4 separate regions of the Homo sapiens genome follow, and all the other regions are linked to region 3. The links are contacts of gene promoters, found by promoter capture Hi-C in blood cells and fetal thymus (Javierre and others, 2016). All regions are on one chromosome and are shown on one strand. The core of a region is centred on a gene start or on the middle of the fragment in contact, and the rest is flanking DNA. Distances in the headings are between cores, read along the strand shown. Region 1 has its middle 3.3 kb from the start of XKR6. Region 2 overlaps LINC00529 (long intergenic non-protein coding RNA 529). Region 3 holds the start of AGPAT5 (1-acylglycerol-3-phosphate O-acyltransferase 5). Region 4 overlaps MTMR9 (myotubularin related protein 9).

Region 1 (3,202 bases), core at 233-2,732, 4.5 Mb after region 3:
TAAAGGTGGTAATCCTTTCAAGGATCTCAATATGATACCTGATAGGCAGCTAAGCACTAGAGAGTAACTGCTATTATTATTACTGTTGTTATTATTATGTTTGCATAATACTGACATGTTTCTACTTAAATTCTATCGCTGAGTGTATTTGGTATCTCTAATAAAAGAAAGCATTTTGAAATACTTCTAGAAAATAGGTGCAATTAATTTGTGCTTTCAAATATATTTTCTCTATTTAAGCTACGAGGCTGTGAAATGAGATACAAAAGCGGGCAGTAATGGTGTATTTATGATTCCTATTTCTGTGTGCCCTGAAAGAACATAAACTAGTGAAATTAGCTAAGTAAATTACACTCGCTATATAAGGCTGACAAATGAGCTTATGAGTCAAAAGTGTTTATTACAATTGAAGTTTCAAGTAGATATGTAAGATTCTCAGACTGTCAAGTGACTTCAACTTTACATTTGCTGTTTCAACAATTTTGTCCTTCTACTTTCTTTGGAAGAAGGATACATTATGGAACCCAGAAGGCTCTAAAATCAGTTACAATGATAATAAACCTCTCATGAAGACTCACTGAAAAGTTAACATAAATCTGGACTGTGCTTTGGATGGCACACTTTTACCTAGAATTTTGGGGGTGATTTTTGTTCCAAGTAAGCCAGCACTTAGCACAATGCTGAACACATAGTGGGCACTCTATAAGTATTGATTAAATTAGTGCAAATTAATTTTCCAGATAACTGAAATTTCACCTTTAAGTGCCAAAAAAAATGTATTTTACGTTTTATGATGTAAACCTCCATAAAATTCAATCATTACGGAGATACCTCAAAACTTTAAAGTGGGGGGAAAGTGAAAGAAATGCATTGCCCATTGGCTTGTGCTCTGCACATCAGGCAGAAAGTTGACCTTTTCTTGACAACTTGACCTTGAAGTGGCCTTATGCTAAGAGGCTCTAACTATTTATGTGCCTGTGCCGGCCTGCTAAGCACCAACTGTTGTTGAGGTTGGTGGTGGTGGTGGTAGCAGTGGTGGTTTTTTCTAACAGTATTTTTTAATCTCTGCTTTCTTTGTTTATTCAGTTAATTAACAACTTTGGCCCCTGTATTTACACTTTAATATAGACAGAGAAGCCAAATAACAAAGCATGTTGGAGTTACATGTAAAATAATACTAAATAGATTTTTAGAGCCTCTTCTATGAGTAAAGTTAAAAAGCTTTAACATACAGAAATTGTGACATAAATTTTAAATGTTTAGAAGCCCTTTGGGGTTTTTCTTCCCAATTCTCTATTTTCAGAAAGGCACAAAGGAAAGTTAGTGTTGAATGCTATTATGTACTAAACAGTCTCCCATACGTGACTCCTTTTAATTATATGGCAGTCCAAAAACGCATGAGGATTAGTATTCCCATTTTAATGGTCTAGAAAACAGACTCGAGTCTGCCAAATGAGTTACCCAGAGTCACATGGGTAAGGGGAGCCATAGATTAGAATCCAGGCAGGTGTAATTCCAAAGCCTGCTACTTACCCTGCCATTGTCCTGGGCCAGGCAGCTACTGGCACTTCCAAATGAAATTAGTGTTACTGTGTTAGTCAGAGTAGGGACCCTATTACAATGCTGGTATGCAGCTAGGAAACAGAACACCTCAATTCCAATATGGGGATAGGCCTCAGCAAAAGCATTACAAAGAGGCTGTCTTATACATTTTTCGTAAGATTTTCCTAGTTTGAGCCTACATAAAGCTTCAAAAGAGTAGGTGGATGTCATCCTCATCAATTCTGTGCCTTGTATCTTATTGACTTCTATAGAAACAGGACTTCTTTGAGTGCTGAGGAGTAAGCTCATAGAACCCATTATCCCTGGAAGCTACATTTCTGTATTCGATGTTAAGAATTGAAGTGTTAGCAAGCACTCTCATACTTTGTTGCTGGTGGTACAAAATGGTAAAATCTTTATGAAAGGGAATTTGGCACTACTTACCAAAATTTCAAATGCAGGTACCCTTTGAGACAGCCATCCCTTTTATGGGACTTTATCTTACAGATAAATACATAGATGTCAGAAAGTATGTGTGTACAAGTTTATTCATGTAGCATTGCTTACAATTGAGAGAAAGAATGGAAGGAAAAAACCCACATGTCCACCCAAAGGGGAACTAGTTAAATAAATTATGGTACATCCACACAACAGAATATGGTGCAGTGATGTTGAAAAATGATAGTTTTCTTTTTAATGATATACAAAGAGTTGCAGGATGCTTTGTTACACAAAACTCAAAGTGCAAAACAATAGAACATGCTGCATTTTCTGTAAGAAAGGGGAAGAGATAAGGTTATCTTTTCTTATTTGTTTGTATTTGCATAAAGCAACTCTGGAAAGAGACCTAAGAAACAAAGTGATTACCTGTAGGGTGGTGGTAATGGTGGAGAGAAATGCTGTGAGTAGGAACAAGGATGGGAGAAAGATAATAAATGTTTGGGGGGAAGTTTGGGGAGGTCGCAGGGAATATGCACCCATATGTAGTGTCACAGAGATCGGTAAGAATCGGCGGGGGTAGGTACATCTGTATTCTCTAACAGCAACATCACTGAGGAGTATTTTGTGAAGTTTTTTGTCTCTTAAAAACTAGTTATAACTCCGACATCTGTGAATTGATTTAAACCCTTCTTGAGCTTCTTTATATTTTTATCCACTGTATTGTCTAAGTAAGGATAAAAAGCTTCATGTATTTACTCCCCAAAGAGCAGAGTACAGTGTAACTTTATCATACGTACACTTACCGTGTGTGGAGTCAACTAATCATGCCCAACCAAAAGAAAATAAGGATCGCCAGGTGCAGTGGCTCACGCCTGTAATCCGAACACTTTGGGAGGCCAAGGCGGAAGGATCTCTTGAAACCAGGAGTTGGAAACTAGCCTGGGCAACATAGCAAGACTCTGTCTTTGAAAAAACAAATATTAAAATTAGCCTGGCATGGTGGTATGCACTCATAGTCCCAGCTACTTGGGGGGCTGAGGTGGGAGGATCACTTGAGCCCAGGAGGTCGAGGCTTCAGTGAGCTGTGATTGCACCACTGCACTCCAGCCTGGACAACAGAGTGAAACCTTGTCTCAAAAAAAAAAAAAAAAAAAGAAAATGAAGATCAAGCAATAGCAAATCAAATCATACAGGCCACTTCCGAGAATGAGCATAGAGC
Region 2 (2,920 bases), core at 418-2,917, 4.6 Mb after region 3:
CTTAATGAAACCATGAGCTTTTCATGTGCCTCCCCCCACATAAAGAAACTAAAAGAAAAAGGTAATGGAATTACTGAAAAATGCATCCCCACCTCTAGGAGATATCACTAAATTGGACATCTCTGTCGGCCACATTCCATTCAGAGTGTGACCCTCATCCTTCAAGGTCCTGTTTTCAAATGATACCTTCTCCATAAAACGTTCCCTGATTCTTCACTCTGTAATTAAATTCTTCATTCCACAATTGGTAATTGTTATAACTTATCCACATAAATGAAGAAAGTCAAAAACTCCAGTTTAAAAAAATAACTTTGTAAATCATCCCCCCTCATCTTCCCTACTCTGTTGGTTCTTGTTTTTAGACTGGACTCTCAGGTGCAACAATATTATTGTTACTGGTGGAGAGTACTGACTACAAATCACCCAGGTTCTTGGCATTTTGAACAAAGAATTGGACAAAATTCACAAACAAAGCAACAAAAAAGTGAAGCGACAAAAGCATAGATTTACTGAAACAAAAGTACACTCCACAGAGCGGGAGCGGGCTCAAGCAAGTGGCTCAAGAGCGCTGGTTACAGAATTTTCTGGGGCTTAATTTTTTTATTTTTTTGAGGCGGAGTCTTGTTCTGTCACCCAGGCTGGAGTGCGGTGGCACATTCTTGGCTCACTGCAACCTACACCTCCCAGGTTCAAGCAATTCTCCTGCTTCAGCCTCCCCAATAGCTGGGATTACAGGCCCACACCACACCTGGCTAATTTTTGTAATTTTAGTAGAGATAGGGTTTCACCATGTCGGTTGGCCAGGCTAGTCTGGAACTCCTAACCTTGTGATCCACCCTCCTCAGCCTCCCAAAGTGGTGGGATTACAGGTGTGAGCCATCGTGCAGCATGGGGTTTAAATAGCCTCTAGAGGTTTCCCATTGGTTACTTGGTTACACCCTATGTAAATGAAGGAGTGGCCCGTCACAAGTCTGACTGATCATGGGAGGTGACCAATCAGAGTCTGAAGTGACGGTAGTTACAAAGTTACACATGAAGACTTGGCCTGCAACCAGTCTGAATGGTTGTGGGAGGGGACCAATCAGAGGTACTTTCCATTTTTCATTTGCAGTGCAGTGCAAAGGGAGTAGCCTCTGATCCTTTCGTTACATTCGTGTGAAGAGGTGGGGTTTCCCCTCTGATTCAGTTCTAGGAAGTCAGTGAGAATTGGCCTTAGGTTCCCTGCCTCTAGACCCTATTCTCCTGTCTCATTTTCCCGCTGTGAGACATGATCCCCATAAATCTTTATGGGAGGCAGAGGGACCAATGGTCTTTCTTCTGTAACTGCTTCATGCTGACTTGGGGTGCGGTGCCTACCTATTTGGGATCACAGAACTCTCACTCTGCTCTGTCTAGTGGATACAGGGTAGCTTCTTGATGGCCAGTAGTGGTGTCTTCACCTGAACTGGCTGGAAACCTTGTTGCATGATCATCTGAAGCTTGATGGTCTCTAGGCGAGAGGAAATTAATTTGGTTAATGTATTTAATAAATATGGTCCAAAAACCAAGGCAAGTATAATTAACAACGAGCCAGTCAGAGGAAGGACTCATGAACCCCTAATTAGCATTTTTGAACAGGAGGACCACGACTTGGACAGCTGTTGTCGTATCTTAGAAGCCTGGTCAGCTAATTTCTGGGTGGCATCCCTTACTAATTCTAATTGGTTGACATAAAAACAGCATTCTTCCTCTAGAAAAAGACATAAGCCACCTTTTCCAGCAGTTAGGAGATCCAGTCCCCTTCTATTTTGTAAAGCAACTGCTGCCAAGGAGTCTGTTTGAGTTTGTGTTGTGACGATACTTTGGGCAATGTCATCCAAGCTTTCCACAAAATCCTTGGAAAGTGCTGGTAACAGTATAGGGAAGTTGCAAGCCCGGTAACTCCCGTTCCTGCTCTCACTGTTATTCCTAGCCCAACAAAAAGGCGTTTGAGTTGGATTGCTCATTTGTGTCTGGCGGTTGCAGTTAAAGGTATAATGAGGGATTGGTTGTTGAGAGCTCTCCCTCTCTCTCTCTAAATATATATATATATATACACATATATATATAGTTTGTTTGTTTTGAGACAGTCTCCCTCTGTCACCCAGGCTGGAGCACAGTGGCTCAGTCTTGGCTCACTGCAACCTCTGTCTCCAGGGTTCAAGTGATTCTCCTGTCTCAGTCTCCAGAGTAGCTGGGATTACAGGTGTGCGCCACCATACCCGGCTAATTTTTTGTATTTTTAGTAGAAACAGGGTTTCAGCATGTTGGCCAGGCTGGTCTCGAACTCCTGACCTCAGGTGATCCGCCTGCCTCGGCCTCCCAAAGTGCTGGGATTATAGGCGTGAGAAACTGCGCCCGGCCGGGAGCTATATTGATTTCGGAGGCTAAAAACCAAGTGTACAGGTTCCAGTCCAATTGGCTGGTAAACACAGTAGGAACTGGTGCTGCACAGGGAAAAGGTTCCTTGTTTTTCAAGACAAAAATTGTTTTCCATGGTGAACATGTGGGTTAGCTTGTTGTTTTCACTTTCCCAAGTGGTTAAGTTTCCTACTAAAGTGGCCAAGCGAAAATGTCAACCCAGCTAGTGGGCCCACCTTCACAGTACTTAGACTGTGCATCCTTTAAAGTGCCCTTAACTAGGGATGGTTTCCATGAAAAGCATACAGGTTTTCTAAACGATGCAGTTTGGTTAATTGCATAGCTTACATGATTGTGTGAGGGTTAATTTCTGGGGTGTGGTTGCATTGAAGACTTCAAGTTCCCACGACCTGAACAGAATTTTGGCTTCTTTCAATACAAAGTGGCATCTGGAATTTTAGCTCTGTGTATGTTGATGTTGGGCCCCTAATGGGTTTCTGTGGGAATGCACCCTCAAAAAGGTTGCTCTGATTGGACTGGA
Region 3 (3,186 bases), core at 259-2,758:
GAGATCTCCATTCACCTGGCTTTGTCCCCAAAGGTCATCATCTACCAATGATGTTGTTATTTGATGTTAATCATGTATAAAGAAAGTAGCTACCATCCTGGCCCTGATTAGAACTTCCCACTGAAATACCGTCCTGCCTAAAGGTAGCACAGGCTCCCATTATGGTGGTGGTGGGGAGGGGGCGGGAATATATATATATATATATATATATATATATATATATATATGGTAAAGCATTCGGCATTCTTTTAAAGTACAACTATCCTTGAAAAGGGTTACATATTAAACCATTTTTACCACAGCCAAAGGGGAGGAGAAAGATCCAAAAGTCCTGTGGATCTGCTTTAACATCAATAAAACAGTTATCCACCCTTCGTAGCTTTTAGTGAAGGCTACAAAAGTATGCTTTTTATGGATTACACATGTGCACGCAACTACTTTAATTACTACAGAAAAAAACGAGGCTCCTTATTAAAAAAAAATCAGAAACAAGTCCAACAGACTCTGAGGAAATGAAGCAAGAGTGAATTCTGAAAAGGTCTAATAAACAGTATGGAAATATCCTTGTGGGATTGTTCTTCAGCTATGCATAAACATGTAATTATCATCATTACTGTGATGGGGAAAAACACGGACCCTAATTCTGAAACACCCTGGTAGCGAGAGACGGGCAGGAGGGGCTGCTGCGCACTCAGAGCGGAGGCTGAGGAGGCGGCGTCCCCTTGCAAAGGACTGGCAGTGAGCAGATGGGGACACTCGAGCTGCCCCGCGACCTGGGCCGAGCTGCCTACAACCTGGGCCCAGGTGCCTGCAAGAATTAGACCTCCGATAACGTTAACACCCACTTTCTCACTGCTCTAATTGTGTGCATCCCGGCGCCCAGGGGCTTGTGAGCAGCAGGTGCGCGTTCCAGGCAGCTCCAGCGACCCTTAAACCTGACCGCGCGCACGTCCGGCCCGAGGGAGCAGAACAAGAGGCACCCGGACCCTCCTCCGGCCAGCACCCACCTTCACCCAGTTCCGTCAGTCGCCACCACCTCCCTTCCCGCGTCCGCAGCCGGCCCAGCTGGGGAGCATGCGCAGTGGCCGGAGCCGGGTTGCCCGCGCCCCAGCAGGTAGCTGTACTGCAACTGTCGGCCCAAACCAACCAATCAAGAGACGTGTTATTGCCGCCGAGGTGGAACTATGGCAACGGGCGACCAATCAGAAGGCGCGTTGTTGCCGCGGAGCCCCCTGCCCCGGCAGGGGGATGTGGCGATGGGTGAGGGTCATGGGGTGTGAGCATCCCTGAGCCATCGATCCGGGAGGGCCGCGGGTTCCCTTGCTTTGCCGCCGGGAGCGGCGCACGCAGCCCCGCACTCGCCTACCCGGCCCCGGGCGGCGGCGCGGCCCATGCGGCTGGGGGCGGAGGCTGGGAGCGGGTGGCGGGCGCGGCGGCCCGGGCCCGGGCGGTGATTGGCCGCCTGCTGGCCGCGACTGAGGCCCGGGAGGCGGGCGGGGAGCGCAGGCGGAGCTCGCTGCCGCCGAGCTGAGAAGATGCTGCTGTCCCTGGTGCTCCACACGTACTCCATGCGCTACCTGCTGCCCAGCGTCGTGCTCCTGGGCACGGCGCCCACCTACGTGTTGGCCTGGGGGGTCTGGCGGCTGCTCTCCGCCTTCCTGCCCGCCCGCTTCTACCAAGCGCTGGACGACCGGCTCTACTGCGTCTACCAGAGCATGGTGCTCTTCTTCTTCGAGAATTACACCGGGGTCCAGGTGAGCCGCCTCCCGCTCCCGGGTCTCGGCGTCCACCCGAGCTCCCGGGGGCGCGGACCTCTCCGCTCCCCCACAGCTGGCGAGGGTCACCCGGCCGGCCCGGCGGACCCAGCACGGAGAGCACGTGCCGCCTCCCCGCCTTCCTCTCCGCATGCTTCCTGCCGTTCTGCCGAGATCGCTCTCTAGGAAGCTGTGGCTGCGTCGTCCTGAGGCTACGAGTGGGACCCGCCGCCCCTTTCCCCGCCCCTCGCCTGGGTCTGATGCTGCTTAGCAAAGTGGGTGCAGATGCACGTTTTAAATAATAGGGCACGCGTTTAGCAGTTTCTGGCCTTTGGTCCAAAGAGGTGGTCATGTTGGAACAGATCGGAGACGTCTACACTCCGAAGTGCGCTTTTACAGTGACCTCTTGAAACAGAAGTACAATTCGGTCTTGTGTTCTTTCCCCTGGACAAGTGAAAGCTGGGCGAAGAAATGAATACATTTGTTAACCGTAGAAGCCTAACTAGATACATTTCTTGCCAACTTTAACTGGGCTTGAATGTGTGGGTGATCTGTTGTCTGATTACTTTCTTTCTGTTACTGTTTCTCTGTAGAGATTGGATTCGTAGATTAAACTTGAGAAACAAACCATAAAAGTGGAAGGCCCTCTTTAACAGTAGGTATTTGAAGTGTTATAAAAAAAAAAAAAAGGTGAATTTTTCTTTTATTTCTCAGTTTGAAAGAACAGCTTTATTCTTGGTTATTCCTAATGTCCACCTAGTCCTCTTTTACTTTTCTTGGTAGGGTTAGGGTGGCATGGGGAAATGGGACGGTATCATTTTGTCTTTTTAACTTTTTTTTTTTCCACCTACAGCAGCTGTTTTTACCCTGTGGTCAGTCAGGTACTATATTTAGTTTGCAGTTGCACTGCTGATCGACCCTTGATGGCCCCAGTTGGAAGTTGTTTGGGGGGAAGGAACTAGGAGAGGCCAGGGCCTCCATTTAAACCAGTGTCTGTAAGTGTCTCCTTGGAAAGAAAAAAAGATACTGTTCCAGGTCATGGTTTCCTGGTAGTTGACGTTTAAAATGGGCCTCATTTAAAAATTTCAATAATTCAGGCTAATTTTTTCCCTTTATATGGTAACTCCACCAAGTTTGTCTAAATGTATGATTTTTATCATGATTAAGTTTTTACTTCCACATCATGTGACAACTGGCCTGGGATGGGATATAAGCTCAGAACACAAAGTCATTCACCTCTTAAAAAAATAATTCTATCTGTGGCGGGTTATGTTATTTTTGTTCAAAGAGGACACAATATGATGCAGAATACACCATTGAAGGATTTTTTGGTTTGGCAAGTTCTTATTTTTTTAAATGGCTGTAAAACCTAGCAGTGTTTCTGAAATTGCATACCTTACCTGATGTTCAGAGATCCGATTTACTTCTTGAT
Region 4 (3,222 bases), core at 218-2,717, 4.6 Mb after region 3:
TGTGATAATGTGTGTCTTTGGTCCCAGTTACCTGGGGGTCTGAGGTGGGAGAATGGCTTGAGCCCAGAAAGTTGAGTTTGCAGTGAGCAGTGATAATGCCGCTGCACTCCAGCCTGGGTGAGAGAGCAAGACCCTGTCTCCAAAAAAAAAAAAAAAAAAAAAGAGGAAGACAAAAAAAAAAAAAAGGTGATGATAGAAGAAAGACAATATTCAAATGCATAATGGTTGATAATTCTCCAGAATCAGTAGAAGTTATTGAACCCTTAAGCTGAGGTATCCCAGCAAATACCATACAAGATAATAAAAAAATCTTTAGACATGTTGTTGTTCAGCTACTGAACAATAAAGCAAAGAAAATACCACAAAGTTAAAAGACAAATGACCTGCATGGTGTTAGATTAACAGAGGAAAAAAGTTTGATCAATATCTATTTATGATAAAAGCTCTTAGAGTTGGATTTGAAGGAAATTTATTTAATCTGATAAAGGATGGGTACCAAAACCAAAAACATAAAAAAAGCAAATCTTGTATCATTCTCTCTAAGTTCAAGAATGAGGCAAGGATGTCCATTGTGACTACTTCTAGTCAGCTCAATAAGACAAGAAGGAAAAATACAGGGTATAGGGATTGAAATGAAGGTAGCAAAATTGTCAATATTTATTGATTATATGCTTGTCTACATAGGAAAAGGAAAGAATCTTGAGATCATAGGCATTTCTGTACACCAAACACAATTTTGAAGAGATGCAGTTAAAATGCAACAAAGATTATTGGGTTTCTAGGAATATATCTAAGAAAAGATAGTAAGACCTTTATTGAGAGAATTATAAAAATTTATGGAAAAAATTTTGAAAGCTTAAACAAATGGAAAAGACAATATACTCATGGATAGAGAGACTGAATATTCTAAAGATGTAAGTCATTCCCTCCGATTTATAAAGTCAATACAATCTTAATAAAAACCCCAGTTGGTTTTTATATTGAATTTGATAAAAGTTGCATGGAAGACCAAAAGACCAAGAGGAGCCACGTTACTCTTTGAAGAACAAAAAGGTGAGAGGAGGACACTTGGCCTACTAGATACCAAACTTATTTTAAAAGCTATAGGAGTTACTAAAGTGGACAAGTGCGACGGGATGGAGAGCACAGTACATTTGGACCAACAGAAGCGGCATTGCAGATCAATGGAGAGCCCTGTCATTCTCCAGAGTAGGAAATCAATAATAATATATCATAGTGAAAGTTCAAGAAATAACAGTATTATCATGTTGTTTAGAAATGTAAAGGTAAACACTGAAAAAGCTAAAAATGTTGAAAATGATTGCCTTTGGGGAAAGCAAATTGGGATGGGCTAGCAAGGAACAGATAACTACATTTTTTTAAAAATAATAAATCTTTAGAAACTGTGTTTTTTTTAAATTAATTAATTAATTATTTTTTGAAACAATCTCACTCCAGTTGCCCAGGCTGGAGTGCAGTGGCGCTGTCACAGCTCACTGTGGCCTCGACTTCCTGGGCTCCCGTGATTCTTTCACCTCAGCATCCTAAGTAGCTGGAAATACAAGTGTGTGCCACTGTGCCTGGCTAATTTTTGCATTTTTAGTGGATATGGGGTTTGGCCATGTTGCCCTGGCTGGTCTTGAACTCCTGAACTCAAGCAATTTGCCTGCCTTGGCCTCCCAAAGTGCCGGGATGATAGGTGTGAACCACTGTGCCCAGCCTAGAAACTATGTTTTTAAACTGGTAACATAAATAACTTTGAAAAGTGAAAAAATTTAATTAAAAATGTGATACTGTATCTTATAAAAGCATTTTTTAAAAGTAATAATCTTGTCTGTTAGTACGTCTAACATACTTTTTAGCTTTATCTTCCTGCTATTGTAACCCATGGTTAGGCCAACTCAGATATACAGAACATATTGAAATTTACATATAATTTGATTTTTTTTTTTTACTGTAAAACCTTTTGACAGTGTTCAAGCTGTTTTTAATTCTGATGTTTAAAATAAGTTGTCATTTGATAGTTTTATATTGTATACTTCTAGTCCTTACTCAGTTTGAAATTATTTCATTGACTCCTAAGCTTAACCTTCCTTAGTATTGAGTTGGTACTGTTTTAAGAAAGGTGTTACCAATCTTAGTACATTTTTTACCTTTTTTAAAATAAACAAAGGGTTTGATATAGATAGTAGCTGTGTTCTCATTTGTTCTGGGGATGCATTATCTGGAGTCGTACAGTCTTACTTGTGCTTTAAGAGGATCATTAACAAACTAAATGGGACCCAGAAAAGGAAGAAGTAGGATGATGTTGGCCGTGATAATTGTGGATGTGCTTAATATATTTAACTTGGAGAATAGAACACTAAGGAGGATCAGCTGTCTTTCAAACATTTGATGGGATACCGTGTAAAATAGGGAACTTGTACGGTGTTGTCTGAAAGTACAGTAAAAACCAATAGAGGGAGCTACAGAGCAACAAGTTTTGCTCAGTGTGAGAAAGCACTTTCTGGGAACTGGTGATACCTAGCAATGCAGGAAGCTGGCCCTGAACCATAGAGCTCCTTTTCTCTGCAGCTACTTACATATAAGCTAGAGATCCACCTGTGAAATTCCTGAGAAATGGCTTCTTCATCAGTGAAAGTTGACCTCTAAGGTCTTTTAAAATTTCTCAGATTATTTTGCGACATTGAGATAGTTGCTTAGCTTTGAAGTATTTTGTGTTTTTCAGACCAGTGAATGGAGGCTAAGCTATGTCAATAAGGAATTTGCTGTCTGTCCCTCTTACCCACCAATTGTCACAGTGCCCAAATCCATCGATGATGAAGCTCTTCGGAAGGTAGCTACATTTCGACATGGAGGGCGCTTCCCAGTACTAAGCTATTACCACAAAAAAAATGGGATGGTAAGTGCACAGCACTACTGCTTGATGTACTGAAAGGCTTGGGTTGGGGATCTTTTCGTAGAAATGTTCCCTTTTGCTCTCTGTCTGTTCACTGAAATGATTGTCCAGGTCTCCACCACAAGGGCTTCCTTCATGTAAGCTTTAGGGAATCAGGAGTAGGGTGTTTTCTGTGGTGAGGATGTGATGCTGAATTCTTTCCATGATCCTGCTCAGCCGTATAAAAGCCCTGATAGCTTTATCTCCAGGACACTATACAAAGGAAACTAGTGTTTATTTGATGCTTACAGCAACATTCTTCTGGTAGAAAAATGAGAAATTTC

Evidence for each region. Contacts are between HindIII fragments. The CHiCAGO score rates a contact against its expected background, and 5 or more counts as called.
Region 1: a contact is called between a fragment that was not itself captured here and the fragment with the promoter of AGPAT5 in region 3, in 2 of 17 cell types (non-activated CD4 T cells and total CD4 T cells). The highest score is 9.4, in non-activated CD4 T cells.
Region 2: a contact is called between a fragment that was not itself captured here and the fragment with the promoter of AGPAT5 in region 3, in 1 of 17 cell types (total CD4 T cells). The highest score is 5.8, in total CD4 T cells.
Region 4: a contact is called between a fragment that was not itself captured here and the fragment with the promoter of AGPAT5 in region 3, in 1 of 17 cell types (M2 macrophages). The highest score is 5.9, in M2 macrophages.

Annotation. Positions count from the first base shown.
Region 1 is chr8:11,203,483-11,206,684 of GRCh38, forward strand. No RefSeq gene overlaps it. Among named protein-coding and RNA genes, the nearest start is that of XKR6, 3.3 kb to the left of the region's middle. The HindIII fragment of the contact is 527 bases long and covers 1,220-1,746 here.
Region 2 is chr8:11,279,933-11,282,852 of GRCh38, forward strand. LINC00529 (long intergenic non-protein coding RNA 529) reads right to left here. Exons shown (of 5, transcript NR_170283.1): 2 at 1,357-1,489. Among named protein-coding and RNA genes, the nearest start is that of LINC00529, 2.6 kb to the right of the region's middle. RefSeq lists a silencer at 1,021-1,070. The HindIII fragment of the contact is 382 bases long and covers 1,477-1,858 here.
Region 3 is chr8:6,707,134-6,710,319 of GRCh38, forward strand. It overlaps AGPAT5 (1-acylglycerol-3-phosphate O-acyltransferase 5), which reads left to right and starts at 1,509. Exons shown (of 8, transcript NM_018361.5): 1 at 1,509-1,754. The coding sequence starts at 1,536. It overlaps MCPH1-AS1 (MCPH1 antisense RNA 1), which reads right to left and starts at 1,076. Exons shown (of 5, transcript NR_125386.1): 1 at 1,008-1,076. RefSeq lists silencers at 1,263-1,602, 1,663-1,902. The HindIII fragment of the contact is 5,238 bases long and covers 1-3,186 here.
Region 4 is chr8:11,302,113-11,305,334 of GRCh38, forward strand. It overlaps MTMR9 (myotubularin related protein 9), which reads left to right. Exons shown (of 10, transcript NM_015458.4): 4 at 2,729-2,902. Among named protein-coding and RNA genes, the nearest start is that of MTMR9, 19 kb to the left of the region's middle. The HindIII fragment of the contact is 1,228 bases long and covers 854-2,081 here.